7 separate regions of the Homo sapiens genome follow, and regions 1, 3, 4, 5, 6 and 7 are each linked to region 2. Evidence: promoter capture Hi-C in 16 types of primary human blood cells and fetal thymus (Javierre and others, 2016). All regions are on one chromosome and are shown on one strand. The core of a region is centred on a gene start or on the middle of the fragment in contact, and the rest is flanking DNA. Distances in the headings are between cores, read along the strand shown. Region 1 holds the start of MED7 (mediator complex subunit 7). Region 2 holds the start of NUDCD2 (NudC domain containing 2). Region 3 overlaps LARP1 (La ribonucleoprotein 1, translational regulator). Region 4 has its middle 3.6 kb from the start of LINC01366. Region 5 holds the start of FGF18 (fibroblast growth factor 18). Region 6 holds the start of NPM1 (nucleophosmin 1). Region 7 holds the start of GALNT10 (polypeptide N-acetylgalactosaminyltransferase 10).

Evidence for each region. Contacts are between HindIII fragments. The CHiCAGO score rates a contact against its expected background, and 5 or more counts as called.
Region 1: the fragment with the promoter of MED7 here is called in contact with the fragment with the promoter of NUDCD2 in region 2 in 3 of 17 cell types (naive CD8 T cells, naive CD4 T cells and erythroblasts); the score reaches 12.4 in naive CD8 T cells.
Region 3: a contact is called between a fragment that was not itself captured here and the fragment with the promoter of NUDCD2 in region 2, in 2 of 17 cell types (total CD4 T cells and naive CD4 T cells). The highest score is 6.1, in total CD4 T cells.
Region 4: a fragment that was not itself captured here is called in contact with the fragment with the promoter of NUDCD2 in region 2 in 2 of 17 cell types (total CD4 T cells and activated CD4 T cells); the score reaches 8.4 in total CD4 T cells.
Region 5: a contact is called between the fragment with the promoter of FGF18 here and the fragment with the promoter of NUDCD2 in region 2, in 1 of 17 cell types (naive CD8 T cells). The highest score is 5.6, in naive CD8 T cells.
Region 6: the fragment with the promoter of NPM1 here is called in contact with the fragment with the promoter of NUDCD2 in region 2 in 2 of 17 cell types (activated CD4 T cells and naive CD4 T cells); the score reaches 6.6 in activated CD4 T cells.
Region 7: the fragment with the promoter of GALNT10 here is called in contact with the fragment with the promoter of NUDCD2 in region 2 in 1 of 17 cell types (total CD4 T cells); the score reaches 8.9 in total CD4 T cells.

The regions. Positions count from the first base shown.
Region 1 is chr5:157,140,911-157,145,203 of GRCh38, forward strand. MED7 (mediator complex subunit 7) reads right to left here and starts at 1,955. Exons shown (of 2, transcript NM_004270.5): 1 at 1,910-1,955. RefSeq lists enhancers at 1,623-1,672, 2,483-2,582. The HindIII fragment of the contact is 9,177 bases long and covers 1-4,293 here.
Region 2 is chr5:163,458,160-163,461,943 of GRCh38, forward strand. NUDCD2 (NudC domain containing 2) reads right to left here and starts at 1,943. Exons shown (of 4, transcript NM_145266.6): 1 at 1,703-1,943. The coding sequence starts at 1,891. HMMR (hyaluronan mediated motility receptor) reads left to right here and starts at 2,473. Exons shown (of 18, transcript NM_001142556.2): 1 at 2,473-2,579. The coding sequence starts at 2,534. RefSeq lists enhancers at 1,660-1,909, 2,660-2,719 and a silencer at 2,240-2,329. The HindIII fragment of the contact is 3,644 bases long and covers 1,214-3,784 here.
Region 3 is chr5:154,758,205-154,762,458 of GRCh38, forward strand. The region is part of intron 1 of LARP1 (La ribonucleoprotein 1, translational regulator); the gene reads left to right. Among named protein-coding and RNA genes, the nearest start is that of LARP1, 5.0 kb to the left of the region's middle. RefSeq lists a silencer at 1-52 and an enhancer at 2,889-2,998. The HindIII fragment of the contact is 2,588 bases long and covers 528-3,115 here.
Region 4 is chr5:170,325,822-170,329,832 of GRCh38, forward strand. No RefSeq gene overlaps it. Among named protein-coding and RNA genes, the nearest start is that of LINC01366, 3.6 kb to the right of the region's middle. RefSeq lists an enhancer at 2,009-2,108. The HindIII fragment of the contact is 1,877 bases long and covers 1,570-3,446 here.
Region 5 is chr5:171,417,749-171,421,747 of GRCh38, forward strand. FGF18 (fibroblast growth factor 18) reads left to right here and starts at 1,899. Exons shown (of 5, transcript NM_003862.3): 1 at 1,899-2,483; 2 at 2,659-2,695. The coding sequence starts at 2,452. RefSeq lists silencers at 1,736-1,845, 1,966-2,075, 2,216-2,265, 2,326-2,405. The HindIII fragment of the contact is 2,658 bases long and covers 464-3,121 here.
Region 6 is chr5:171,385,824-171,389,675 of GRCh38, forward strand. NPM1 (nucleophosmin 1) reads left to right here and starts at 2,026. Exons shown (of 11, transcript NM_002520.7): 1 at 2,026-2,183. The coding sequence starts at 2,126. It overlaps MIR3912 (microRNA 3912), which reads right to left and starts at 937; the gene lies at 833-937. RefSeq lists silencers at 2,307-2,366, 2,687-2,746. The HindIII fragment of the contact is 7,200 bases long and covers 808-3,852 here.
Region 7 is chr5:154,188,829-154,193,145 of GRCh38, forward strand. GALNT10 (polypeptide N-acetylgalactosaminyltransferase 10) reads left to right here and starts at 1,905. Exons shown (of 12, transcript NM_198321.4): 1 at 1,905-2,197. The coding sequence starts at 2,039. It overlaps LOC124901118 (a long non-coding RNA gene), which reads right to left and starts at 1,251. Exons shown (of 2, transcript XR_007059010.1): 1 at 1,168-1,251. RefSeq lists an enhancer at 315-1,280 and silencers at 1,501-1,590, 1,681-1,780, 1,791-1,900, 1,991-2,070, 2,141-2,200. The HindIII fragment of the contact is 10,101 bases long and covers 1-2,811 here.

The DNA of each region.
Region 1 (4,293 bases), core at 705-3,204, 6.3 Mb before region 2:
TCTTCACTCAGATTCTCCAAATGTTAACATTTTCCTTCATTTGCTTTATTGGTTTTTCATTCCTTTACCCCTGAATACTTCAGTGTGTTTTCTCGTGACAAGAATGTTTTCTTCTACCCAAAGCACAATTACCAAAATCAAAGAATTAACAGTGATCTGGTACTTCAAAATACATTTTTTTTTTCCCTGAGACAGTGTCTCGCTCTGTCACCCAGGTTGGAGTGCAGTGGCACGATCTCGGCTCACTGCAAGCTCGGACTCCCGGGTTCACGCCATTCTCCTGCCTCAGCCGCCTGAGTAGCTAGGACTACAGGCGCCCGCCACGACGCCCGGCTAATGTTTTCTATTTTCAGTAGAGACGAGATTTCATCGTGTTAGCCAGGATGGTCTCGATCTCCTGACCTCGTGTTCCACCTGCCTCGACCTCCCAAAGTTCTGGGATTACAGGCGTGAGCCACCGTGCCCGGCAGAAAATACAATTTTTGACAGCTCACGTTTCATCCCACTCAAACCTTTTTAGGTGAGGAGTGCTGCTCTGTACTTTCCTACACGATGTGCATTCCTGTATTGCGGCTGCCATTTTCCTAAGGCCAACTACATGACAGGTACCATTTTTTATGGCCTCTGTAACATAATCTTCATTAACAATTCTATGAATTAAGGTTTTTGGGGTTTTTGTTGTTAGTTTTGTTTTTTGAGACAAGGGCTCAATCTGTCTCCCAGGCTGGAGTGCAGTGGTACCATCAGGGCTCACTGCAACCTCTGCCTCCCGGGTTCAAGGGATTCTCCTGCCTGAGCCTCCTGAGTAGCTGGGGACTACAGGTGCGCACCACCACGCCCAGCTAATTTTTGTATTTCTCGGTAAAGACAGGTTTTCACCATGTTGGCCAGGCTGGTCTGGAACTCCTGACCTCAAGTGATCCGCCCACCTCGGCCTCCCAAAGTGCTGGGATTACAGGCGTGAGCCACCACACGGTCCCACGAATTAAGTTCTATTATCAATTTCATTTTAGAAGTGAGGATCCGAAGTCTCAATGAGGGGAAGTGTTGCCCCAGATCAAAAGGTTAATAAATGGCACAACAGGAATTCTTATCCCAGGTCCCTTTAGCTCCAAAGGGCAAGCTCTCTTATATCCCTAAGCCGAGAAGCATCTAACTGTACAATAAGGACTGGCATATCACAAAAATTATATTTCTTTCTCTACTGTCTCTCTAGATGGAACTTTTCAAAGGTGATGGAGGTCTTATTTTTAATAAAAGCAGAGCCAAGCATCAGAGCTGGTTCTTAACTCAAGATCCAACATCTAGTGTTTGTTCTACTGGGGGAGAAGGAGCTTCACCAGAAGACGACAGACATTCCAGGGTCCCAGCCCCAGAGATTTGATTCATTCTGTCTACTGTGAATGGGCCCTAGAATGTCGCTTTTAAAACCTCTCCAGATGGACCTGACGATTAGGCTTGGGATCTACCGCCCTCGCCTGCCCCCATACCTCAGCTGTTTCATAACTGCTCCCAGAAGAAGGAAGGGCAGGGAGGGCTACTCTCATGTTACAAAGAGCCGGAGAGGGCAAATGACTCGCCCAAGGCCACACAGCTTAGAAAAACAGCGGCGCGGGGACTAGACGCCAGGTCTCCCAACCTCCACTCCGGCTCGGCGTCCCAACACGGAGGAAGCCCCGAGACTGCCACGCTTAGAGCCCCCTCCTCCAGGCTGTCCACCCCGAGGCCTCCGCGCTCTCGGAGAGACCGCACTCTCGGAGAGACTCGGGAGAGAAAGACGAAAGACCGCCTTTGGAGGCCGAACTCAGCCATGCCTCCCCAGTTCCCAGCCCAGCACAGAGGAAGCTGCGGGGTCCGGAAGAAAAAAACGCACACAGGCGGCGGCCCCAAACCGTTGCCGCCCACTTACCTCAGCTCTGGCTTTACACTGGTAGCCGCCTTCCCCTCTGCAGCCGAAACCAACTTCCGGTCTCCTCCGGGAAGAAGCCACCGACTCTGTCCTTGATTGGCTGTAAGAGCTGTCCTTTAACGAAATTCTAGCTCCGCCTCAGACCGATCCCTCGCTGTTGCGCCTACGTATGTTTGACTCCTCCCATCCACCCGTTACTGACTTTTAAAAGTCGTAGCTGAGGGTTCCGTTTCTTCGTTTCTTTTTGAATTAAGGCATAAAATTGAACAAGACACCTTATTGCTTTATTTTTTATAGACCCCTTATTGACCAGAAACAATCTTATGTTTTAATGTTTAACATGCTCTTGTAAGACTTAACGTGAATTTAGAAATTTATGACACGAAAATAACCTCCAAAAGAAACGCTTGCTATTGCGCCTGCGTATATTCCACCCCCTTCCCCATTACCACTCTTTTACTGACTTAGTCGCTGCTGGTAGTTCCATTCCTTTTGTCCTTTTTTAATTTAACGCATACAATTAAGACGTCTTACATACAAATTCGAAAATATAGACATGCAGGGTTTTTTTGTTGTTTTTTTCTTTGAGACGGAGTCTTTCTCTTTCGCCCAGGCTGGACTGCAGTGGCGCGATTTCGGCTCGCTGCAACTTCAGTCTCCGGGATTCAAGCGATTCTCGTGCCTCAGCCTCCCGAATAGTTGGGGTTTCACCTATTTTTTTTTCTTTTTTTTGTATTTTTGGTAGAGACAGGGTTTCACCGTGTTGGCGAGGCTCATCTCGAGCTCTTGATATGAAGTGATCCGCCCGCCTCGGCCACCCAAAGTGCTGGGATTGTAGGCGTGAACCACCACTTCCGGACTCCCCCATTTTAAATCCCTCGCACGTATCAATTTATTTCCTGAAGAAATCCATCTACGTTGAGCATAACCCAATCCAGCTTTTCTCCTCACCGCTGACCCCAATGTATCCTGCACCAGTGACTTCCAATGGTCGTTCCCAGTCCTCATTTTACTCCATCTGTCAGCAGCATTTGGCACATTTGATTAATGGATTGCCCCAGGACTCAGTTCTCCAACCACTTCTCAGTCAGATATCAGCTGGATGATTACATGCAGGCCCTGGAACACCGTTTCCTCTGCACTTCAGACCCTCATATCCAGTGGTGACAGACATCTTTCCCCAGTTGCACTTTACTCAATTGCAAATGTTCAATCGAAGGAATCACCTTTTTCTCCTTTCTCACATACCCCACCGAAACTACCATACCAGCCTTTTGCATTAGATCTATTTAAAAATAAGTAAATAAAGTTCCAAATATGACTGACCACCGTTCCCACTGCTATGGTCCTATGCCATGCCACCATTATCTCTCACCTGGACTTCTTTGATTTTTTGTCCTCCCTTAGTCTATTTACCACACCTTCTTAAAATATAAGACCGGTCTTATCACTCCTCTATTCAAAATCCTCCAAGGCTTTCTATGACTTTTAGAATAAAATCTGACATCCTTCCCCTGGCCTATATCACAGGCCCTACAAAATTGCCAAGTACATCCCGGCCTTGGGGCCAATGCATTTGCCTGGAACTCTTTGCACAGATATTGACACGTCTCATTTCCTTCTTTCCTTTTTTTTTTTTTTTTTTTTTTTTTTTTTTTTGAGACGAAGTCTTGCTCTGTCACCCAGGCTGGAGTGCAGTGGCCCAATCTCGGCTCACTGCAAGCTCCACCTCCCAGGTTCACGCCATTCTCCTGCCTCAGCCTCCCCAGCAGCTGGGACTAGAGGCACACGCCATCACGCCCAGCTAATTTTTTTGTATTTTTAGTAGAGACGGGGTTTCACCGTGTTAGCCAGGATGGTCTGAATCTCCTGACCTCGTGATCCGCCCGCCTCGGCCTCCCAAAGTGCTGGGATTATAGGCGTGAGCCACCGCGCCCGGCTTCATTTCCTCAATTCATTCAGGTTTCTGGTCAAATGTGACTTCAAAGAGTTCTTCTGGGGTTACACTACTCTATGCAAAATAGCGCATCCCTAATCTTTCTCTTGGGAGATGCCCCTGAAACCCTTACTATGTATTATCTTTTTTTCATAGAACCTCTCATCATCTGAAATCATCTTACATAGTATATTTATGTATTTTATTGCCTTTCTTATCCATCAAAAATATCAGGTTTATGAGCATGGGACCTTTGTTTCATTTACTGCTGTTGTGTTTGAACCTACATACAACGGTGCCTGAAATTGGCAAATACTCAATAAGTGTTTATTGAATAAGAAACAAAATGAATACAATCATCACTTTCAAATAAATTCATAGCGTGGCTTTGGTGGTTATACCACAGTCTCTTTAGCCAGATCCTCATTGTGTTAAATTATTTTTCTCC
Region 2 (3,784 bases), core at 693-3,192:
TTTAGTAGAGATGGGGTTTCCCCGTGTTAGCCAGGCTGGTCTCGAACTCCTGACCTTGTGATCCGCCCGCCTAGGCCTTCCAAAGTGCCAGGATTACAGGCATGAGCTACCGCACCCGGCAAAATGTTGTTTTTAAAGTAAACTTTTAAAAACGTTTTAATCTTTTTGTTGGGCAATCGGCATTAAAAAAACTTTACGTATTCCAGATTTGATAGATTAGTTGTGACTAACTGTTCACAAACTCATGTTTTTTAAAAAAATAAACAAAATATAAATTTAAAAGAGACTGCACCAGGCCCAGTAGCTCAGGCCTGTAATCCCAGGACTTTGGAGGCCAACGTGGATTGCTTGACCCCATGGGTTTGAGGCTGCTGTGAGCTACAATCTCACCCCTGCACCCCAGCATGGGAGACAGGGACCCTGTCTCAATAAATATATATTTTTTTTTAAAGAGAGAATGCCTAAACTCAAATCCATTTTAATTTGTTGCCAAATTTAAGTTATAGAAAGTGAAATTAAATGTCACTAGGAAAAGCCCACATTTTAAAATATGTCAAAATTAGTGAGAAAAAAATCCCACTGGTCTATACGTACATCAGAAATCCCAAATTCAGCAGCTACTGCTAAATTCCGAAAGTTACTGGATTTACTAATTTATAATCGTAATCTAAAACCATTGTTGAGGAAACTATGAATTGTACAATTCAGAAAAGTAACTGAGATCCAAGCTGACATAATGTCTTTCACACGAATCTTGAGGCACTCAAAGCACCTCCATATACTGTAATATATATAATAGCTAATAGCTAACATATAGTATGAACTTATTACATACCAGTGAATACTCCAAGCTCTTCATACACGTGAATACCATGTTAAGCTCAAAACAATCCCATGAGAAGGGTACTATAACTACCTTATCTTGTGGATAAGGAAGATATAGAGACACTGAACAATCTCTCGCCCAAGTTTACAAAACTAGGAAACAAGTAGTCTCCCTTCACCATATTACACTGCCATCAAACATCTTGGGCATCTAACCTGAGAACTAAATCTAATTTCAACCTGTTAGTTTAATTATACACTTAACAAAGAAAAAGCGGGTCCAGATCCAAAGAGCATTGGTGAAAAGAAATAAAAGGAGTACTACTTATTTTATGCACACACCTCTTCACCACCTGCTTGACCACTCCACAAACATGCAGGATTTTCAAGCTTTTAGATGAGAAAACTAATCACCTGACATCATCTCTAAATTCTCTGCCCGTTATTCTATCCCTATTTTCTTTGTTGTCCTTTCCTATATTTATCTATTTATGAATTACGCTTCCGTACAGGAGCTTAACCTCTCCACTGCAGGTACGTTATCTGTTGTCTTCCTGCCTGTCTTCAGTGCACGGAAGAAATATTTGTTCCTTTAGCAACCTAGTTAATCTGTTCCCAGCTGAAGCCCGTCAGAGAAGCAGAAGCAGCAGTCTTAGTTTGAAAACTAAACACGAAAATAGGCTCCTCAAATTTCCACAACTCAGCACCTGCCCTGAAGAGGCGGGGGCTCTGACCAGACCCAAACCTGGTCAGTGTTATCCTCTTTCTCTTTCTGCCAGCCACAGGAGCCGTCGGGACACCCAACAGTCGTTCAGGGAAACGGGGCTGGGGGCGTCTGGGAAGAGGAAACTGAACACAAGCCCCGAGCTGCCGCTACCTTGAGGATCTCGCGGCCGCCCACCGACAGCGCCACATGCCGGCTCTGGAGGCCGCACTGGATATCCTGGGCGCGCGTGCCTGGCGGCACCTGAACTTCAATGAACACCTCCTCCAAGGTCTGGTACCACTGGCCCCACGGGGTCCCGCACGGTACCACCCCACTCCGCTCCTCAAACGGGGCCGACATAATCCAGTCCCTCCCGGCCGCGGCCGCACCAGGCGGAGCCGAGCGCACGCGCGGAATCCCACGCTTAGGCTACGCCTCGGCCTCTCCGCTCGGGTCACTGCGCATGCGCAGGAACGCAAGCTAGCGCTTTGGTGTGCGTGTTCGTTTTTCCCTTTGAATGGCCGTTTACGGCACCGGCAGGCCCCGGATGAAAGAACTGAAATCCAGAAAAGTTCACATGCAACGAACAATGGGACAGAATTGGAACCAGTGAAGCCGGAACTCACTACACCGTCCCCTAAGTGACGCCAAAATGCACTTTCTAACGTCTCCGGAGGGAAGTGCGCTTGCGCAAATGCTAGGTTACACTTGAGTAACTCCGGGAATGACTGGGTGGGTGGGGCGGGGAACAGTAACGGTCTCCTATTGGATGGCAGCCTAAACTCGCAGGCCAGCTAATTGGACGCAATCAGAACCCAGCATTCTTTCTTCGTGTTCCTGTGCGGGATTGGTGTGCCCAGGGGTTTGGCTTTCCAATTGGCTAACGCCGGGGTGGGTGGGGAATGTGGGGAGATTTGAATTTGAAACCGGTAGGGAGTGATAATCCGCATTCAGTTGTCGAGGAGTGCCAGTCACCTTCAGTTTCTGGAGCTGGCCGTCAACATGTCCTTTCCTAAGGCGCCCTTGAAACGATTCAATGACCCTTCTGGTGCGTAAGGGGGAAAGAGCTGGGGGACGGGAGACGCCCTAACGCCCTTTGCCTCTTTCAGCTCCCTTCTTGGGAGGCAAGCAGGAGGCGATTTTAGGGTCGGGCTGGGGCTCATTCAGTTGATTGATTTTTCTCAAATATGCTCTAAGCATCTGTTACATGCCAAGCACTAATCAGGATGCTAAGGATACCGCAGTGAAACAGTCTCCGCCCCGTGGGGCTTACATTCAGGCGGGGAATACTGTCAATAAACAGCGGTAATGGAGAAACTACAGCAGGGCGAAGGGAATGGACCCGAGACGTTGGTAGCTACTTGATTTTCAAGTCCGAGAGGGCCTCACTGATAAGAACACTGGAGTATTACTTGTAGTCTGAACTTGTGCATTTCTTTTGTGTATTCCATTTGGGCATAAAAGAAGGAAGATTAGTAAAGGCAGTTTATGGGTGTAAAATTAGAGCAGCAGCACTTATTGAAAACATAAACAATGAAGTTATGGCTGATATTGACCACTTATACCTCAAGCACCGTACTAAGGCTTTACATCGATTATTAGTTATGTTAATTTCCCACCAACTCTAAGGGGTAATCCTATTATTATTTTATTGATAAAAAGACTGAGACTTAAATTTGCTCAGTGCTACATTACCAAAGTGACCGGACTGGAATATGAACCCAGCCCCCATCGTGTGCTCTTAACACCGCAATGCACAGCACAGTAACCAGGAAGCCTTAGCTGTGTTTGGTAGGCACTCATCATTTAAGATGCTGTATGCGGCCGGGCGCGGCGGCTCACGCCTGTAATCCCAGCACTTTGGGAGGCCGAGGCAGGTGGATCACGAGGTCAGGAGATCGAGACCACCGTGAAACCCCGTCTGTACTAAAAATACAAAAAAAATTAGCCAGGCGCGGTGGCGGGCGCCTGTAGTCCCAGCTGACTACAGGCTGAGGCAGGAGAATGGCGTGAACCCGGGAGGCGGAGCTTGCGATGAGCCGAGATCGCGCCACTGCACTCCAGCCTGGGCGACAGAGCAAGACTCTGTCTTACAGAAAAAAAAAAAATGCTGTATGCTGGGACTGTGCTACTAGATCTTGTTTATTCCTTCCAAAAGCCAAGTGAGGAAGGTACTGATATTGACCTCATTTTACAGATGAGAAAACAGAGGTTTTGTATCTTGCACAATCAGTAAGTGGTAGAGCTAAATAT
Region 3 (4,254 bases), core at 572-3,071, 8.7 Mb before region 2:
GGAGCCCTTGATAGTGTGCGTCACTGGGGTTATTGATCGTGGGAAGAAGACAGCTTGGCTGGCATCTCACCTTTTCCTCTGAGTGGAGAAGCTGACTTGCTTTAAGTGCCCAAAGCAAAATTCTGAGTAAGGGTAGATTTGCTCTGTTATTGTTTTTTGGAATCTTAAGGCAAGAGAGTGTCTACTTGTTGGTTTAGAACCTTTGGAATAGGTTTTGACAGCCTAACTCAAGTTAATCCAGTAGCTTCTCTCTCTAAGCCTGTTGTTAGGGTTTGTGTGCATTTTGAGAGAGAATTCTATGATTGGGTTGTCAGTCTGGTAAGGCTAGATGATGACCCTTTCTCTGGAGCCTACGTGGATCTCTGAAGTGCTTTTCCAGCCCTGGTTTTATTTACAGCTTCGACAAATTTAAACGTGACACTAGTGGAGTGGCTGTGTGGTCTTGGGAATTTTTGTGTTCTGTGATGCACATGTTTTTGGGAGTCTACAGAAATGAGTACCTCATAAGCAAACTAAAAGCTTTCCAAAGCTTGCTGTAAATGCCTATTTTTAGCCTTACTTTTGGCTCAAATGTTGGTGTTTTAGTTCTTTAAGGGACACATGCAGTAACTAGTAATAAAATATGTTTCGTGATATCTCTACTTTCTTGTGGGGTTCTGTATTCTGGTTTAAGCGTCCAAGTCTTACATTTGTAGTTTTAAGTCTTGGGATTTGCATTTTGGTTTTTTAGATCTCCCTCCCTCCCCAGAGTATTTTTAAATGTTTAAAATTTTTGTCTTATCCTAGCCATACCCCTTTTAAGTATAAGATCCAAGACGTCTAAGTTAAGAGATGATACATAGCGAATATTCTGGGGTCAAACTGAGTGGGTTCAAATGCCACTGTACCACTTGTTAGCTGTGCTTCCTTGGGCAAGTTATTTAACCATTCTATGCCTCACCTTCTTAATTTGTGTAATAGGTATTTATGATTCACCTGCCTCATGGGGGTATTACCAGCATTCATTGTTATGATAAGTGTATTTAGCCCAGTGCCTGGCAGGTAGACATTGTTACTTACTCTGGGTCTTGGTGGGACTTTTCCCTGGGTCTCTGGTTTTCTCTACCTGTAATATGATGGGGTTGGTGAATGCAGATCTTTCCTTTTCTTGTGTTATATAAGTACTCCGTGAAATGTATGGGATCTGTCTCCTTAAAACTTGACTTTTGCTTATCCACAGACATGAAGGGCATGGATGGATAATTTAAAGGTTGCTGACTCTTAAGAATTAGCTATTTTTTGCTTTGGAATGTGGTGAGATGAATTTTAAAAAAATAAGTTTTAACTTTTTAGTTTGCCTTTTGTAAAGATTTTCTTTGGGGGGAGTTGCACGTGTGCTCTCAGGGATATGAGGAAAAGCCAGCCTAACTGGACTGAAAGTTTGCTGTGGCTGGTGCACATGTAGTGCCGTGAGACTTGAGAGTACAGATAGTCCCCAACTTATGATGGTTCAATTTATGATTTTTTGACTTTATGTTGTTGGGAAAGTGATACACATTTATTGGAAACTGTACTTCAGGTACCCATACAACCATGGTTTTTCACTTTCAGTACAGTATTCAATAAATTAATTACATGAGACATTAAACGCTTAAAATAGGCTTTATGTTAGATGCTATGGCCATCCGTAGGCTAATATAAGTGTTCTGAGTGCATTTAAGATAGGCTGGGCTAAGTTTGTTTGTTTGTTTGTTTGTTTGTTTGTTTGTTTTTTTGGAGACAGTCTGGCTCTGTCGCCCAGATTGGAGTGCAGTGGTGTGATCTCGGCCCACTGCAACCTCCACCTCCCGGGTTCAAGCGATTCTCCTGCCTCAGCCTTGAGAGTAGCTGGGATTACAGGCATGTGCCACCATGCCCGGCTAATTTTGTATTTTTAGTAGAACGGGGTTTCTCCATGTTGGTCAGGCTGGTCTCAAACTCCCGACCTCAGGTGATCCACCTGCCTTGGCCTCCCAAAGTTTTGGGTTGGGATTACAGGCGTGAGCCACCGCGCCCGGCCCTAGGAGCTACTTCTGATCCTGCTCATGACCAGCAATGTGGACACCGGCAAACGCTTTGCTTTCTCTGTGCCTGTTTCTTCGTCTGTAAAATCAGGGTATTAGACTAGGTCTAAATGTCTTAAAATTTTTCTAGTATCAAAAATTTTTTTCTAAAACTCCCTCCCCACAAAAGAAAGAAACCAAAGTAGAGCTTTATATATGTGTAGCTTTGTATTTGCGTTGTGATTAGGAATCCAAGCTCTCTGGAGGCTGGAGAAACTCTTCTGGCTTCAGGAGCCTAAGTCGATGGCTTGGGGGTGTATAATGGAGCAGCCAGACATTATGTGCCTTACAGTGTCTGAAAGCACACAGCACTGCCTGAAAATTTCCTCCACCAAATAAAAACTGAACCTAAATCTAACAGAACCATAGATCCAACTGCCAGTTTATAGGGAAATGGGGCTACAGGAACAGACTAATTAGCCATGAGGTAGGCAGTTATTCAGTTTCTAAATGTGAGAAATTCTACAAGACACACTATTTCCAATAAATAAATGGCATTTTTTAAAGGGAAGAACTGTTACAGATGAAGAAAGTTGAGACATCAGTCGTGCATTGTTGTGGATCTTGTTTGGATCTTGATTCTTGACCAAATGTCCAAAGACATTTTGATGACAACTGAGGAAATTGACTAAGTTAAGAAATTATCTTATTTTGTCAGGGGTGATAATGGTATTATGATTGTTTTTAACTGTGTAACTGGATATATTGTGCACCCCCACCTAAGAACTGTTAGGTTAGTCTATTACATAAGACTTAAGGCTTTTTCCTATTGTGCACTTGATCTTAGCCAAAAGGCCAAGAAGCAATATAGTGTGAATCACTTTCTCTTCTTCTAAGGAAAGGTCACAATTAGGACACCCTTTGAAGGGGAGAGTGGGAGGCAGCTTTCATCGGGAGCCTTCAGCTGGCCTGGCCCCTTTCCTTTTGCACAGGTAGTTTGAGTTTCATACTAACCCGGAAGTGAGTGCCTGCCAGGTAGGGGAAGGTTTTTAGGAAGTGGTTTTTGGCCCTTTGGGAGGTAGAGGGTAGTCACAAGCTTTCTTGAACTCTGAACCTCCTGAGGGTCGGGGTCTTTCTGCTGACCCACCCACTGTCTATAGTGGGACCTGAACTGGAGTAAGCAATCTTAATAGCTGTTACTGAGCACCCATTCTCTTTTCTGGGAGGTGGGCAGGGTGGGAGGAGGAGGAGGAGCAGCCGGCCTGAAACTACAAAACCTCTTTAAGATGGAGAGCTTGGCAGATGGGAGTTCCCCTGTTTGCAAAACCCAAGACAGCTCAAAGGGAGTAATTAGGGTGTTGGGGCCACTGGAGGTTCAGCAGGTGCCTCAGTCCAGACTCAAAAACCTCCCTGGCTGGTCCAGAGTGATCTAAGGGAGTGGCCAGGAGAGAGGATGGCCTTACCTTGCCTGGGATTCAAGAAAGGAAGTAAGTTTTGGTACCTCGCTGGTGAAAACATGGGAAACAGCACATCAATGTGAAGGGAGAAGGTGATGGGATTTAAATTAGAACATGGGCAGGGTACTTCTCTCTGCTCTCACTTTGTGACCTTAGATTGTTTGTCTAACCTGTTTTCCTTATTCACAGAATGGGGCTAATCCCGGTGCTGAGGTTGTTTAGAGCGTCAAATTGCTGTTGAGTATGGGGCAGTACAGTTCATGAATTGAAAAAGTCCTGCTGGGCGCGGGGGTTCACACCTGTAATCCTAGCACTTTGGAAGGCCGAGGCGGGCGGATCATGAGGTCAGGAGTTTTAAGACCAATCTGGCCAGCATAGTGAAACCTCGTCTCTACTAAAAATACAAAAAAATTAGCCAGGCATGGTGGCGTGTGCCTGTAGTCCCAGCTACTCAGGAGGCTGAGGCAGGAGAATTGCTCGAACCGGGGAGGCGGAGGTTGCAGTGAGCTGAGATCGTGCCACTGCACTCCAGCCTGGGTGACAAGAGCAAGACTCCATCTCAAAACAAAACAAAAAAACCAAAAAAACCTCCTACACAGAGGTAAGATGTAAGTTTTTTTTTTTATTTCAGAAGATTGCATTCCAAAGCCAGATATTGGTAATTACTCACTCTGAGGGTTTATCTGTGCCTTTCCGGAACTGAGTGGATAATCAGGAGTTAGCTGAATTTTCAACAAGGGCTATTTGTGGTAGTTACCAGGGGCAAGTGGCCAACT
Region 4 (4,011 bases), core at 1,258-3,757, 6.9 Mb after region 2:
CACTAACCTTGGGGACTGGAAAGGGGCCTTGAGAAATGTCTACCAGTTTCCAAATAATAGAACAAATACCCCAGGTTTGGTATCTTTTTCACAATCTAGGACTTTTTGTGGGTGATTCTGACTCCAGTGGAGGCCCAGGAGGCAGAACCCAGAAACTGTGTACAACCTAAAAAGAATTGACATTTGGTTTGAGGACCAGATGAGGCGCAGAAACAAAGTGCCTTAGCATATGTGTTGCCTGCAACAAAATAATATAAATCTGCAAACTTATTTTTAAACGTCTAAAAAAGTAAGATGAATTGATGGATGGGTAAAGGAATAGCTAATTGATGGATAGATACGTGATTAAAAAAAATACAAATTTACACCCTCAAGGAGGTGACGCGTAATTCCTCATTAAGTTTTTTGAACTGTGGGATGCACCTAGTAACTTCCTTTCAAAAAGTACACATGGAAAGGAAGGAAAAAGTGTAACTTCACAGTGGAGAACCTGACCAGCACTACCTCAGCCAGGTGATCAAGGTCAACAAGAGCGATGACATGTGGACAGTGTGTATCCTTGATATGAGATGAGAAAAGCACTTTACCTCTGCGGTCTTTCTTCTAAAAATCCACATCCACAGTGTAATTGCCAGAAAATCATCAGACAAATCCCAACTGAGGGACATTCTATGAAATACCTTGTAAGTACACCTCCAAGGTCAGGAGTTGAAGACCACCCTGGCCAACATGGTGAAATCCTGTCTCTACTAAAAATACAAAAAATTAGCCAGGCCTGGTGGCATGTGCCTGTAATCCCAGCTACTCAGGAGGCAGAGGCAGAAGAATTGCTTTAACCTGGGAGGCGGAGGTTGCAGTGAGCTGAGATCGCACCACTTAAAGTATGGATTTTAGTTAATAACACACCAATATTAGTTAATTAGTTATTACAAATGTATCATACTAATATAAGATTTTAATAATAAGGGAAACAGGCTAGGAAGTATATGGGAACTCTGTACTTTTGTAATTTTCCTTTTTGTAGTTAAAAGGTTTATTTAAATAAACAAGCTTAGTAAAACATTAATGGTTGAACCAAGGTTGTGTGTATATTGGTGTTAATCGTAAGATTCTTTCAACTTCATTGTAAGTTTGAAATGATTCATAACTTTATTTATTAGCTAGCATTTATTTGTAAGTTGAAACTTCAGGGTAGGAAGATCCTGAAATGCTTCAAGCACCTACAAGCAAACAAAGGTTTGCAAATTAAAATTAACGGTAGAGCACTAACAAAGATGTGCAAATTGCCTCTGAGGTTGTTTTTACTCGGTATGCTTTGTTCACTGCTTTATATTAATCGAAGTAAAACAATTTGTAGGGATATTAATAACTTTACCATCAACTCGGGTTCCTCTAACCCTAATATTCCCTTGAGATTTTAAGTTTCGTAATCATAATTTGTCCTAAGTGCCCACGGTGTGGGAGAAGCTGTGTATTTATGTTTCTGCAGATGATCTATCCTCCTACTTCACAGCAACAAACCTGAGGCTATCAGGCATAACTGCCCCATTTCCTGTCCTCCTACCTAGAAGCTTATTTATAACCTTCCCACCCTTGCCCCCTTCCTTCGAGACTCAGAGAGCAGTTCAGGGTTGGCCACTTATTGTGTCACTTGTTCCTCCCCTTCCTAATTCTTTCAAGGCATTCACTTTTTTTTTAATCAATTATTTTATTTCTTCCTCAAATTGTTAAACTTTACACACCAACTCTTCATCACAGCCCCCAAAGCCTGTGAATCTCATCTTTAAACAGTGAATCATGTCCTCCCAAAGCAAAACAAATCAACCACCCTAACACCTTCTCTCTGCCTCTGTTCTCCTCTGCCTCTTGCCTCCTGTCTTTTCCCAAAGCCAAGGTTCTGCAGAAGACCATCTACACCTGTCGTCTGCATGGGACTTTCATTCCTCAGTACCCAACTCTCCACCGAGAGCCCTCTGACAAGGTCACTGAGATGTCCCCAAAACCCATGCCAGCAGCCTCTTGTGGTCACCTTCTTGCTAGACTTTTAGCAGCAGGTGACACCCATGACTGAGTGTCTGCTTGGTATTCTCCCCTCCCCTGGCTTCCAGGACCCCTTTGGCTAGTCCTCGTCAGCCTCCTTTGCTGGTTCCTCTTCCTCTGCTCACCCTGATAAATATCAGAGCTCTGTCCTTGGTCTTCCTCATATCAAGCCCTAATACACTCTTGCTACACAATCCAACTCCCCCCAAGGCCACCCTCAACTCCAGTGACTCTCAGATATACACTGCCCCACAGAATACCAAAAGCCAACACGCAACTTGTTTTCAACACTCACTATGTGCTAGGCACTGTTCTAAGCATTTGACCTATGTTGTCTCATCTAATCTTTACAACCCTATCAGGGTGTACTATCATTAACATCCCATTTTACTGAGCACAGAGCTCAAACAACTTGCCCATGTCCACACAGCATGAAGCCAGGATTCAAGCCCTGTCCCACACTGTGCTCCTTGCAGAACATCTCCACCTCAAGGTTTTTCATCCACCTCTAACCTACCATGCCCCAAATGGAATTCACAATCCAAATGGAATCCTTTCCCCCAAACTGTTCTCCTTGTATTTCCAGGGGAAGATCCAGGCTTGGTGGAGCCTGAGGATTCTATAATTGGCCAGGAAGGGGCTCTTTAGGAAAAAATAAATAAAAAGAAAACAATGAATACAAGAGTAGGTTTAGGACCTTGATAGTGGATGTGAAAGGGAGGGATTCTCGCACATAACCTTCATTAGCTTCATGGTGAACCCCACCCCATACATTTTGTATTCCAGTGGCTAGCATCTAGTCATTCCAGCAGGGGCATGGAAAATTCTTCTCTTTATATTCCCTCCCTCTTCCCTTCTTCATCCATATGGAACCATGGATAGCACTCTAGTTCTACCTTCCTCAAGTCTCTAGAATCCCTCTTTACCTTTTCACGTACACTATCCTGATTAGCTCAGGTCCTCAACATCCCACACTCGGACCATAGCCATAGTCCACTCTGTCTATTCCTGCCACTTCCTGGACTTTCCCCAACACAGTTCCTGTGCTTAGCAGGGTGACCATCAGAAACATGCATCTCATCAACCCTTCTGTGATGGTCCATTTTCCTCTGACTAGCATCTACATTCCTTAGCCCAGCAGTACCCAGCACAGGTCAATCTTGCCAGCTTTACTTTTCCCTGTGCTCTCCTTTTGTTCCTTTCTTCAACAAATAATTATTGAGGACCTATTCTTGAGTACTATTATGAAGTGCCAATAGTAGGGTAATTGAATGCTAAACACTGAATATGCAGTAGCAATCAAGACCAGATCTTTCACACCTCTTGTCCCATCACACCAAATAGCTTGCAGTTTTTAGACTCTAAGACTGTGTTCAGCTTCTTTCCCTTTTCCTAGGCTGCAGGGAAGCTTTTAAATTCATTGATTACCTGAATAATAACCACTTATCCTTCGTGGATCAGATACAGTGTTATCTCCCATATAGAGCATTTTCTGATCACCCTCCAGCAGCAAAAATGGATCCCTTCCTCATTTCTATCCCAAATGTGCTTTTGAGATCTGATATTCCCTCAGAACACCTAATATACTTTGATGCAACTACTTGACTATTGAGAAGGTCTCCCTCATTTCAAAGCAAACATTTGGATCAAAGAGACATCATTTTATTCATCTCTACATCCTCACTGGAACCTGCCATATAGTAGACACCATACATTCATACATACGTACATTCACCAACTCATTCATCTTCATCCATCCATCCATCTACCCATCCATCCATTCATCTATCTACTCACTAATCCATCTACCTACTCACCCATCCAACCATCCATCTACTCTTTCATCCATCTACCTACCCACTTGTCCATTTAACCATCTACTCATCCATCTACCCACCCACCTGTCCATCCATCTACCATTTTATTCATTTACCTACCCATCCGTCCATCCATCCATCTACTCATCCATCT
Region 5 (3,999 bases), core at 649-3,148, 8.0 Mb after region 2:
GAGTTTATGCTCTTACTCAGAACTGTTCTCTTGGCTGGACTTTTTGGTCAGTCTGATTTGTTTGGTAGGTGAGATTGGCAAATATACTTTGAGCATTGAAAAATACTGCAAGCATTTTAGATAGGGTATAAATAATTATATACCCATTCCATTCACAAGTAATAAAAAATAGTAACAATATAGAAAATTGGAAGCATGATTCTTAGCCAGGAGATACTTCAAACTAGCAGATGGTAAGCCAAAAACTCCTCGACTGGGTTTGTCAATCTTCCTATAAAGCAAGATCAAAGACGGCGGCAATGACTCGGGTCATCGGTGGGAGCATTTCTGTCCATTTCTATTTATGGTTGGTCATTGCATCCTATCTTGGGATCGATTCATTTTCTCCAGAACTTGGGAAGTTACGAGTAACTCTGCAAGTCCAGCTCTGGCAATCAGAATGTCTAAGTAAATTCAGCTTAAAAGCTTCATGCAGGAATTTTCCCCCTCAGCACCTGGTTTTGAAAAGGTTTTCTGCACTTGTGTCCGATGTTGAAACAGAGGCTATCTGTTTAAAATAGCCTCAGCTTTGAAAGGGAACTTAAAATAGCTTGCAAGGAGGCCTGATATTTGGAACAATTACTAATGTTTTATAGTCATGGCTTCAGCAAATAGCACTGTTCGACAGTCCTACCTCAGTTTATGCTCCAGTGGACCATCAACCATTGCCAACGCAAGGAGGCTTTAACCAAATAGTCCAGATTCCTGAGTTTTGCTTGAGCCTGTCCTCCAGCGTCTTTCTCACTGTGACCTATTTTCCTTAGCATCAGGCTCAAGCAGAGCTTGGCTGACACCAGCTCTAGACAGTGAGGCAGGTACGTGACAAGAACACCTACGTTTTGGGGTTGGTGGGAAGGACAGGAGTTATGCCTCTGGAAGGGGCAGAGGCGGTAAGAACCAGTGTCCTGAATGGGGCCCTGGTTAAAGGAACGAAGCTGCCTAGTATGCAAACGGAGGCAAGTCTTAGTCCGGTTTTGGGAGGAGGCCGGAAGAGGGCCTCAGCGTGGTCGCTGACCAGAGTCCTGCTGGCTGCTCCCCGGCGTGCAGCCGTCCGTGCTGGGGTTGCAGTGACGTCTCGGGGCCGCTTGGTGGTAGCCGTGTGTTTCCAAAGCTGGCTCGCCTACGGGAGAGTCCAGCTGGGATCCCGTGAACCGACCCCAGAGCCCCGGAGGGGGCGAGGGGTGGGAAGGAGAGATGCCCGGGAGCCCCCTTCGCAGCGGCAGGGACGTAAGAAGAGGACGGGGGCTCACTTAAGTGGGTAGCCAGTCAAGAGGGTGGCTGGGAAACTCCACGATCGCAGGGCGGGTAAAAGCGACCCCCATTCAGTGGAGCCGCCCCGGGGCTGGGTTTGACCCGCCCCTCTCGGCTCTCCACTAGAGCGCTGGTGAGTGAGTGCGAGTAGCGAATGTGGGCAGGTGAGGACGTTCCGTACCTAACTGCGTTCTTGGGGAGCATCGCCTGCCCAATTTGGGCAACGTTTGCGCGGAGGAGCGGTCACTGCGCTCGGGCGCAGAGCTCCGACGGCTTCCAGCGCTCACCAGCTTCAGTCTCGCGGGTCCTGCCCCTTTGGAGCTGCCGGTCCCGTCTCCGAGAGTCTGAGCGCCTCCCCTCCAACCCCGAGCCGCCAGGAGAAGGAGGAGGAGGCAGCGAGAGGCCGCGGCAGGCAGGCGAGCAGGCAGGGCCGCCTTTGATGTGGGCTGGGCGCACCCAGGCGAGCTGAGCGCCCGTCCGGCCGCGCCCCGAGGGGGGAGCCCCCAGGCCCCGCATCCTCATTGTGCCGGCTCGGGCCCGGGCCCGCCCCCGGCCCCCCGCCCCCTCGCCGCCCGCGCGTAGAAAACGCCCCGGCCGCCGCCAGTGGTGGGAGGCGGCGATGCGCACGGCCGGAGAGACGCGGAGGAGGAGACATGAGCCGGCGGGCGCCCAGACGGAGCGGCCGTGACGCTTTCGCGCTGCAGCCGCGCGCCCCGACCCCGGAGCGCTGACCCCTGGCCCCACGCAGCTCCGCGCCCGGGCCGGAGAGCGCAACTCGGCTTCCAGACCCGCCGCGCATGCTGTCCCCGGACTGAGCCGGGCAGCCAGCCTCCCACGGACGCCCGGACGGCCGGCCGGCCAGCAGTGAGCGAGCTTCCCCGCACCGGCCAGGCGCCTCCTGCACAGCGGCTGCCGCCCCGCAGCCCCTGCGCCAGCCCGGAGGGCGCAGCGCTCGGGAGGAGCCGCGCGGGGCGCTGATGCCGCAGGGCGCGCCGCGGAGCGCCCCGGAGCAGCAGAGTCTGCAGCAGCAGCAGCCGGCGAGGAGGGAGCAGCAGCAGCGGCGGCGGCGGCGGCGGCGGCGGCGGAGGCGCCCGGTCCCGGCCGCGCGGAGCGGACATGTGCAGGCTGGGCTAGGAGCCGCCGCCTCCCTCCCGCCCAGCGATGTATTCAGCGCCCTCCGCCTGCACTTGCCTGTAAGCGCCCGCGCGCGGGGCTGCCCACCTTGCCTGGCTGTCTGTCCGTATGCCTGTGCCCTGTACCTCTGTCTGCCCGCCCGTCGGTTCACCTGACTCTTCGACTGCGTGTCTGTCTGTCCGTGCGCCCCCTTCCTCAGGTCCCACTGACCGCTTCTCCATCTGTTTCCCGCAGGTGTTTACACTTCCTGCTGCTGTGCTTCCAGGTACAGGTACGTGGGCTCCTGACTTTGACCTCCTCCCGCCCCTGCCTCGCGGTACACGCCGACCCCCCTTCCCCGGCCGCGCCCCCTCCCTGTGCCCCACCCCTCCTGGGCGCTGAGCCCAGTGCACCTGTTCCCAGGGCGCGGAAGGGCGGCTCCGCGTGCGCCCTGCGCCGGCGGGGAACCGGCCAAGGGCAAGGGGCTCTGCCGCGGGGCCCGAGGAGGCGCTGGCTGTCGCGGCCACTGTCGGCCTCGGCTGGGAGGAGATCCCGCAGAGCCGGCGGGCTCAGCCGCAACAATATACCCAGCTCTAAGACCCCTGCCCGCAGCCAGCGAGGGGTAGGACCTAGGGATTTTCTCTGCCAACCTTCCCTTAACATCGCCGCTTCCAAACAAAAAGACTTTCAGCCGAGTGGATTTCGAGTCCAGGGAGAAAGCTTCAGTTGTAAATTACTCTGTGGTTTTGAAGGCGCTTGCAGCACTGAGACACACACACAGACACACACACATGCCCGGGACGAGGGGAAGCTCGAGGGCGCCTAGGCCGAGTGGCCGCTGCCCGCGAGGCCGCTCCCGGATGGGCCGCGCTCCGCACTCCCTCGCCTAAGGTGGTGCAGCCCTCGTTGGTTCCCCGCCTGCTCCCGGTTCGCTCGCTCTCCGTGAATCAGAAGAGGGCTTGGCGCTCGGCCTGGAAAGCACTTGCTAAAATCTGATCTGTTACTTCAGCAGCTTTCAGACTCGGGAAGGTCTTGGCACGCAGACAGTTGGAACGCTCTGGCTTCCAAAGCCGTAGAAATGAAGGAAAAAGGGTTGGGGGGAGGGAGAGAGAAGAGCGAAAAAGGGAGCCGACTTCAGCCCCGATTAGAACCAGACCAGGGCTGCCTCTGCATGGTGGGGGTCGGGGGGCGGCGGGCAAAGGGAATAGGAAGCGTCAGCTCCCCAAGCCCCCACCCACCTAGTGCTGCAAGGGGCCAGGCCAGGAGGAACTGGACACAGGTCAAAAGAGGGTTGTCTGACCCTTCCCCCTCGGTGGAAGGCAGGTGGCTTTCCGGGATTAGAGAAGATTCTTAGACCTTAGCCTTCTGGATTGTGGAGATCCCCAGAGCTAGCCTTGAGCACAGGAAATTGGTGGTTCTCCCGGTTTTCTGGCTCAAGGAGTGTTGTGTGCCTTGAGCACTGCGCGACTCAACAGCCACTCGCAGTGTTTGGCGGTGGTGGGCCTGCTATCTTCCTTCCACGCCCAGGAGAGGGTTGTTACCCTCCTGATAGGCACTGAGCTGGGGGCATCCATTGGGGCTTGGGGATGGAAGGGT
Region 6 (3,852 bases), core at 776-3,275, 7.9 Mb after region 2:
ACTTCAGGTCAGGAGTTCGAGTCCAGCCTGGCCAACATGGTGAAACCCCATCTCTACTAAAAATACAAAAATTAGCTAGGCGTGGTGGGGGGCGCCTGTAATCCCAGCTACTTGGGAGGCTGAGGCAGGACAATCACTTGAACCCAGGAGGCAAAGGTCACAGTGAGCCAAGATCATAACACTGCACTCCAGCCTGTATGACAGAGCGGGACTTCGGTTTCAAAAAAAAAAAAAATTAAAATAAAAAATAAAACAGTGGCCGGGTGTGGTGACTCACGCCTGTAATCCCAGCACTTTGGGAGGCCAACATGGCGAAACCCTGTTTCTACTAAATATACAACAATTAGCTGGACGCGGTGGCAGGCACCTGTAATCCCAGCTACTTGGGAGGCTGAGGCACGAGAATTGCTGGAACTCAAGAGGCAGAACTCGTGAGTCAGAGATCTTGCCACTGCACTGCAGCCTGGGCAAGAGAGCGAGACCCCGTTTAAAAAAAAAAAAAATGCTGGCTGGGTGCGGTGGCTCACGCCTGAAATCCCAGCACTTTGGAAGGCAGAGACAGGCGGATCACCCGAGGTCAGGAGTTTGAGCCCAGCCTGGAGAACACAGCGAAACCCCATCCCTCCTAAAATACAAAAATTAGTCGGGCGTGGTGGCATGCACCTGTAGTCCTCGCTACTCGGGAGCCCGGGAGGCGGAGGTTGCATCCAGCGGAGATCACGCCACTGCACTCCAGCCTGGACAACACAGCGAGACTCTGTCTCCACACACACACAAAAAAAGGCATAACAAATTTAAGTGACTCAAAGCTTTATGTGACACAGGAGCTCTCAGAAAGGAACAGTTAAATTATAACATGTCCATATTATGCGTTAGTATGTGTCCACAACTAACCCATAATATGGACATGTTATAATTTAACTGTTCATTCCTCTCTTGATAGACACTGAAATCGTCTCTATAATTTTCCTGTAAGAAATAATGCCTTGGGGTGGGGGTGTCTTCCTTTCTGAGGCTATCATTTGTATTCCTCACTTCTTAAATTTGTTTGATATGTTGAGGCTTAAAAAAAAAAGATTACGGGTCTTCAGAACGCCCCAATGCCCGCGGGGTGCTGGGGTGCCTCGGAGTTTGTCAAGGTGTAGCTTAAAACGTTAATTCCCATGCTCGCTCCCAAATATTCGAATTAAGGCTTCTGTAGTTCTTACAAGTCACCCGCTTTCTTTCAGGAGGAATGTTAAAGATTAAGAGCGGCAAGAAGTCAGAGTCGGCCCACCCTCCGAGCTCTCTTAGGGCGATGTCCTTGCTAATTTGGAGACTGATTCAGTCCCCTTTTGGCCCCCAAGTTACGTAAAGATAAGGACTTTGGAGATGTTTTCTCAGGAAGGACAGAGCTGAAAAACAAAGTTCCGTAAGTCTGGCCGGTAACTACATCTTTCCTTCCTAACAAAGAATAAGCCGCAATTCACTCTCTCTGGCACCTGAACTTTGGGGTAACGATTAACTGCGATCCGAAGCCTTCAGGCAAGTAAAAAATTCCTGAAGTGATTACGCCTGTTTGGAGGCTTGCAGGGCACTAGGGGATGGGGAAAGGTGAATCGAGGTGCTCTCTGGCTCATTCGCAGCCGGCTAACCCGCCATATCTTACACAGCTAAGGGCTGCCGACGCCATTTTGCAGGGTGGGCTGCGCAGACTCTTGGCGGGAGGCCGGCGCGCTTGAGCGGGAGAGGACGTGGAAGGGTTGGAGGTGGGGAGTGCGCGTTACGACTGGAAAGCACGCGTGCGCACAGGCGACAGCAGCGGAGGGGTGGGGCCAGTGTACGAGTGCGCGTGCTCGGTGGGAGCCCGCGGAGTACCTGGAAGGAGGTGGGGGCGAGGTAGAAAGGAGTGGGGTTGAAAAGCGCTTGCGCAGGACGGCTACGGTACGGGGGTGGGAGGGCTTCGGAGCACGCGCGCGGAGGCGGGACTTGGGAAGCGCTCGCGAGATCTTCAGGGTCTATATATAAGCGCGGGGAGCCTGCGTCCTTTCCCTGGTGTGATTCCGTCCTGCGCGGTTGTTCTCTGGAGCAGCGTTCTTTTATCTCCGTCCGCCTTCTCTCCTACCTAAGTGCGTGCCGCCACCCGATGGAAGATTCGATGGACATGGACATGAGCCCCCTGAGGCCCCAGAACTATCTTTTCGGTAACTGCTGGGGGGAGCTGGAGCGAGGCCGAGCGGGGCCTGGTGGCGGTGAGGGTGGGGGTGAGGGGCGGGAATCCGGCTGCAACCGGGTCTGGTGGAGACCGCCAGACCGACGGGAGGCCTGAGCGGGTGGGAAGAGCTGCCTGAGCCCTGGACCTGGAGGGATTGGAGCCGCGGGGGGAGCCGGTGGCGTGAAGGGGGAGGAGACGAGCGGCCTGAAGCGTCTGGGGCGTGAGCGGTCCGAGGCCCGGGGCCTGAGGTAAAGTGGAACCGGCCGCCTGGAAGTTCGGCCTTTGCCGGGGATACGTGGCGGAGCTCCAGGCGTGGTTTATTTTCTAACGGCGGTGGTTCATAGGCTTCTGATGCCAGGCCCCGGGTTGGTGGTCCTGGAGGCTGGGTTCACCGGGAAGCATGGGCCTGCTTGTTGGAGCGGGTAGATGCACAGCCTGGCGTTATTCTGGCCTCAGAGCCTGGAGCTGCCGGACGTAGACTTACCTCGCGTGCTTCGGCCAGTTACTGGGGGTGGGGAGGCGCGGCGCGGCGTGAGGAGGCCGCAACCGCTGGGAGCACGTGGTTGCCACGTGGTTGGGGGAGGGAGGGGGGTGTGGGCGCTACATCCGGGACTCACCGGCGTGTTGCCACTCGTGAGCCAGGGATGCTGTGGCTCTGTTGAAGTGGGAAATGTTAAGAGGCTGGTAGCACTAGGGTTCTGGAGGTCTTTGTTCAGTGCTTACAGCATGTACTGTGATGGCAGCTCTCATTTTTTTGAGCCCCTTTTCTGTCTCACTGCGGTAGGTGGAGCTAGCCCCACTTTGCAGATGAGGATACTGGTGCCCAGAGATAAACTCACTTAACGAAGGTTGTACTTAGTAAAGGCAATAAGAGACTAAATCTAAACCAAGACGCTTGACTCCGTAGCTGCTGCTTCGTGAATATTAATGAGGCTTCGTTTTAGGGGGACGTCCTCGCATGCCGCCATTTGTGCGGCATTGACCAAACTGCTTTTCTAAATACAAGAAACACGTAGAGTGTTCGGTTTGAGTCAGATCAAGACCTAAGACTATTCGCAGAATTTTGGGAGCACCACCCCCCTCGACTTGCGGTAGTCCTGCCCCAAAAAGGAGAGTCCCACTTGGGTTTTTGATCTCAGTAGGATTAATTGCAGAAGCCTAATCTTTGTACTATTCAGACTTTGAAGTAAATGCAAATCCTACCGTGAATTTTATCTTGTTCATTATCCGTGCTGAGATTTGTTAATTAAACGTCTGTTCACATTTAAGCATGTATATGTATTGGTAACGGTTAGATGATAGTTAAATGGAATCATTTAAAATTTTTATTCTGACAGTGTTTTGAAGAATTTTGCCCATTCATGGAGTGAGAGTAGACATATGTATTCAAAACATTAAGGCTTTAATTCCTAGTTATTTTGGATAGCTGAGAATTCTGGTAAATTTATATCAGTACTTTTTGATAACTATCGGAAAGAACCCTCCTTGTCTTAAACATAATTTCTGAATATAGTTTGAGGCGTATGTCACTTTCTGTTGCTTTAAAGAGTGGAGTGTTGATCCCTGTAGCAAACTTCGGTTCTTTTACTTTTGTCATTTTTCTTTTGTAATAGTAAGCTATTCATGTTTGTAACCGTTCTCATTTCGAAATTGCCATT
Region 7 (4,317 bases), core at 655-3,154, 9.3 Mb before region 2:
TGGCCAGGATGGTCTCGATCTCTTGACCTCGTGATCTGCCCGCCTTGGCCTCCCAAAGTGCTGGGATTACATGCATTTTTAAATCTGACTCTCATTCGCCAATGGGTATAAGAAAAGCATGTACCTCACAGGGTAACTGTGAGCATTTAAAGAGGTAATGCATCTCAAGGGCTGCCTGACATAGAGTAAGCACTCAATAAAAGGTAAGCATTATTGTGATGGAAATCTAAAGAAAGAAAACAGTTCCCTGAGGAGGAGTTTTAGAAGGCTTCGTGGAGGAGGTGGCAGTTTAACTAGACACGGAAGGATGAACAAGATTTCCACCGACCTAGAGAAGGGGGTTTTATGGGTAGAAGGAGCTGCGTGGTCAACAGCACAAGAAGGAAAACACAAAGCCTGCAACAGGCTAAGCGAAGCTCAGGGCAGGGCAGGGCAGGGCACGGCAGGAGACAGAACGTTTGATCAGCCCTAGCAGGTCATAGGAGAGGAGCATGATGGACTCTAGAGCCGAGGTGATGGAAGCCTTGAAGGTTTTGCTGCAGAAATCAAGAACTGAGCTGTGATGTCAGAAAACTGAATCCCCATCGCTCAGCCTGGAGCTGGAAGAACTTGGAGGCAAGAGTTGCCAGAACGCTGGTCAAGGACTAGTGGCAGCTAGGCACGAAGGTCAGCGGCTGAGCTAGAGAAGCAGAGAATCAAGAGGACGAATGTGGGGGTGGCAGAGAGTAAGGTAGCCAAGGGGGTGCTCCGTTCCACCGCATCAGGGAGGAGGCAGCTAAGTGACCAGCGTCGAGCGCCCCGAGGAGGAGCCGCTGGCTGGCATCACCGTCGGAGTCCGGCTCCACGGCCCTCCGCATCGCCCAGAAGCCCGACTCCTCTGTCAAAGCCCTCGCCACAGTTACAGACACATTGCCTGGTCTAGTGAAATTACGTGTTTCATGTTTCAGCTCCCAGACGTCAGGGCTCAGGTCTGTTTTCATTTCATCCCAGAGCCTGGCACAGTGTTTGGCACATAGTGGCGCTCGCCAACGGTTTGCTGAGAGCTTTCCGGGAAGGGCTCAGTGCGCTTAGGATCCAAAAGCACGCGTGAGAATGCAGGGCATTCTAACTCCAAGGGGGTTGGACTTGCGTGAGGAAAGGTGCTGCAGAGAGGCTACCGTCACTTACCCACCCGCCGGTTTGCAGGATCTACAGACGGGCGGCGGCCGGGCACAGCTCCCTACAGTTTGCAGAGGGCGTTCACACCTAACGCCAGGGCCCCCCTAGAGGAAGAAAACCAGGGCCCGCCCGCGGAACAGTGAGCGTGCAGCACGGCTGTGGCCCCGTTTCATGGCCGGGAACACCGAGTCGCCGGGGTCAAAGTAGGTCCGCAGGTCCTGGGGGCCGAGCCTAGGTGGGCTGGAAGTGACAGCCCCGGGGGCTCCAGGCTCAGAACGCCCGGCGGGGCCCCAGCACTATTTGCATATCCCCAGGGAGGCAGCAAAGGTTCGGCTGCAGTCCCGGGCGGAGGTTGCCGGGCGGGGCGGCAGGGTACCCGGGCGAGCGGACATGCACCCCACCCAGCGGTGCCCAGCCCGCACCAGTTAGCGCCCAACTCGCCAACTCCGGGACTTTCGCAAAGCTCCAGAGGGCGGGGGAGCCGCCGAGGAGTGGGACGGACCATCGCGGCTCGAGAGGGGGGAAGCGCTCCGGCCCGGCATCCTGCAGCGCCCGGGCGGGCCGAGACGCTCCGTGAGAGGGCCGAGCCTGCAGCGCAGAGACTCGGCGGTCGACGCGGGGGCAGGCGGCGCGGGGCGGGCGGCTCGGCGGGGCCCGGGGGCGGTGGCGGCGGCGACGACCCCCTCGTGGCGGCGGCGTGGTGGCGGCGCCCAGCTCCCCGGCCGGCGAGCGGCGGAAGTGCCGCGGAGTTGGAGCGGGGCCGGCGCCGCAGCCGCTTCTGCTGGCTGAGCTGCTGCCGCCGCCGGGCGGACGGGCGGACGCGCGGAGCTGGGGGCGGCGCGGCGGGGCCGGCGGGGCGCGGCGGGGCTGACCGGCCCCGATGAGGCGGAAGGAGAAGCGGCTCCTGCAGGCGGTGGCGCTGGTGCTGGCGGCCCTGGTCCTCCTGCCCAACGTGGGGCTTTGGGCGCTGTACCGCGAGCGGCAGCCCGACGGCACCCCTGGGGGATCGGGGGCGGCGGTGGCGCCGGCGGCGGGACAGGTGAGTCCCCCCGTTGCTACAGGCCGGGAACACCCCCTTCCCGAATTCACTTTTAGCCTGTGGTTCCTTCCTCCACCTTCTGCTGTCTGCCTCCTCAGAGTCAGCTCCGAGACTCTTCAGCTCTTCCCATTTTCCGGATGGGAAAATTAAGTCCTGTCGGGACTTGTCCAGGGTCCCACGCCAGTCAGAGACTGAGTCCGAACTAGCACTCAGGACGCTATTTCTCACCACATGTTACCACCTTCCTTTCTGTCCCCGTCTGGTATTCCTTGACGTCTTCCAGCGGATCTCTTTTGAAGGATCCTATCTGCATCCCTGTATCCCAGGATGACTCCTGCCTTGTGCCAATAGGAATGAAGATTCTGGTTCTTCTATTTGGTGTCCAGGTCCTCTCTGCTTCCCTCCTCCCACCCCCCCCCCCCCACAACCCCTACCTGCTGATCCCAGTGTTCTTTGCTCAGGTCAGCCCTTTTCCTGATTTCTCATCTGCCCAACGAGACACCCGGGCCTTCCTCCTCTCCCCATTTATTCAACACCCCCGCCCCAACTCTAGCCTTTTCCTTTCTCAGATCCTGTGGATTCCTTGCAGAATGTAAAGATCATGCTCCCTTTAAAGCTTCAAGCCCCTGGGGGTGGAGAAGGGGGTAAGCTCCTGGTCCTTGAGGGACCTGCTGCCTTTGACCTTATGGGAGTCCAGAGGTGGGGCTCTGGTGGGGGGACCCCCAAAATGTCCCAGAGGCTATTGGTGCCCAGTGTCCTGAGGATGGAACACCAGAAGCCTTCCCTATCTCTTCTGAACTTGTCTAGTCTGGTTAGTTGTAGTGTTTATTGCAGCCAAAACTGGGATCGGAATGGTTTCTGCCTCCTTTGAACTTACCCACGTATGTTTGTGTGTATGTGTGCGTGCACGCATTTAGACTAGCAGCTCCCTCATAGCAGAAGCTCTGTCACATCACTCCCACCCTCCCAGGAGGTGCTAGTGAGTGTATTGCTTAGACTGTTTCATATAGTGGAACATTTCAGGCTTTCTTACGGGATTTCTCTGGTCCCATGAGAAGTGGATAATTTGTGTATCAGGGTCAGACTTGACTGACTGTTGGCTGGCCTCGACGAAAGAGGCTGGCTTTTCTGAGATTGATGGTTTTCCTTATTCTTCCCAGTATCAGGCTGCTGTCTAGGCAGTCTGGCATCTGGAGCACAGAGGGCTCTTTGCTACAGAGCTGACCAATTTGAGCTCCGCCTGTAACTCTGTTAATTGCTGCAAAGCATCCCAGAGGGTCTCATTGATCTTTCTGGTAGAGCTTACTGTTTAGAAACTAAGGTTTCCATCTCTTTCCTAAACCCCTGGTTCAAACCCTGACAGCTAGCTTAGACCTCTCTCCCTGAAATTCTGTATCTGTATGGATTTTCCGTTCATGAAATCTCTTTCCTCTGTTCCTATTCAGTACCAGCATCAGAGTCAGGAGTTCCAGGGTTCTGACCTCAGCTCTACCACTAACTTACTGTGTGTGTCCTTGATCACCTTTCATCTCCTTTTCTGAGCCTTACTTTCTTGGTCTGTAAACCATGATTATTGGTCCAGTTCTAACATTCTGTGATACTATCAGTTAATCAATGAGGAATACAACGGTCCCTTCTTTTTTTCTGTCTTGAGTCCAGAGTTCCTTGTAGCATCCCTAGCTGTGGAGGCTCCATACTGGACACAGCTCCAGGTCAAGGGGGAGTGTCCTACCCTAGTGCAAACTCTCCTTTAGAATAGCTGTAGCCCATTCTAAAATAGTGCTTGACATTCTGCCTCTGCTTGGAGAAAGACCTCGTATTTCATTTGCAATAGATGCCAAAGACATCCTGATTTTCATTTCTGTAGACCCAGATGGGTAGAGAAGGTCAAGGTTAACTGCCAGTTTGGCCTGAGCTTTCAAAGTAAATTACTCACTTGTGCAAGAGGGTATTGATAGAGTAAGGCAGACTTTTGGGCAGGGAGAGAGAGGGGAGCAACAGCTGGGTGCTGCTCAGAGCCCCTAACTGAAATGGATAGACAGGCTCATCTGGGAAGATCTAGTTTTTGTTCATTTCTTTTTCTCTGGAATAGCATGAAGAGGAGGAGGAAGAAGTGGTGA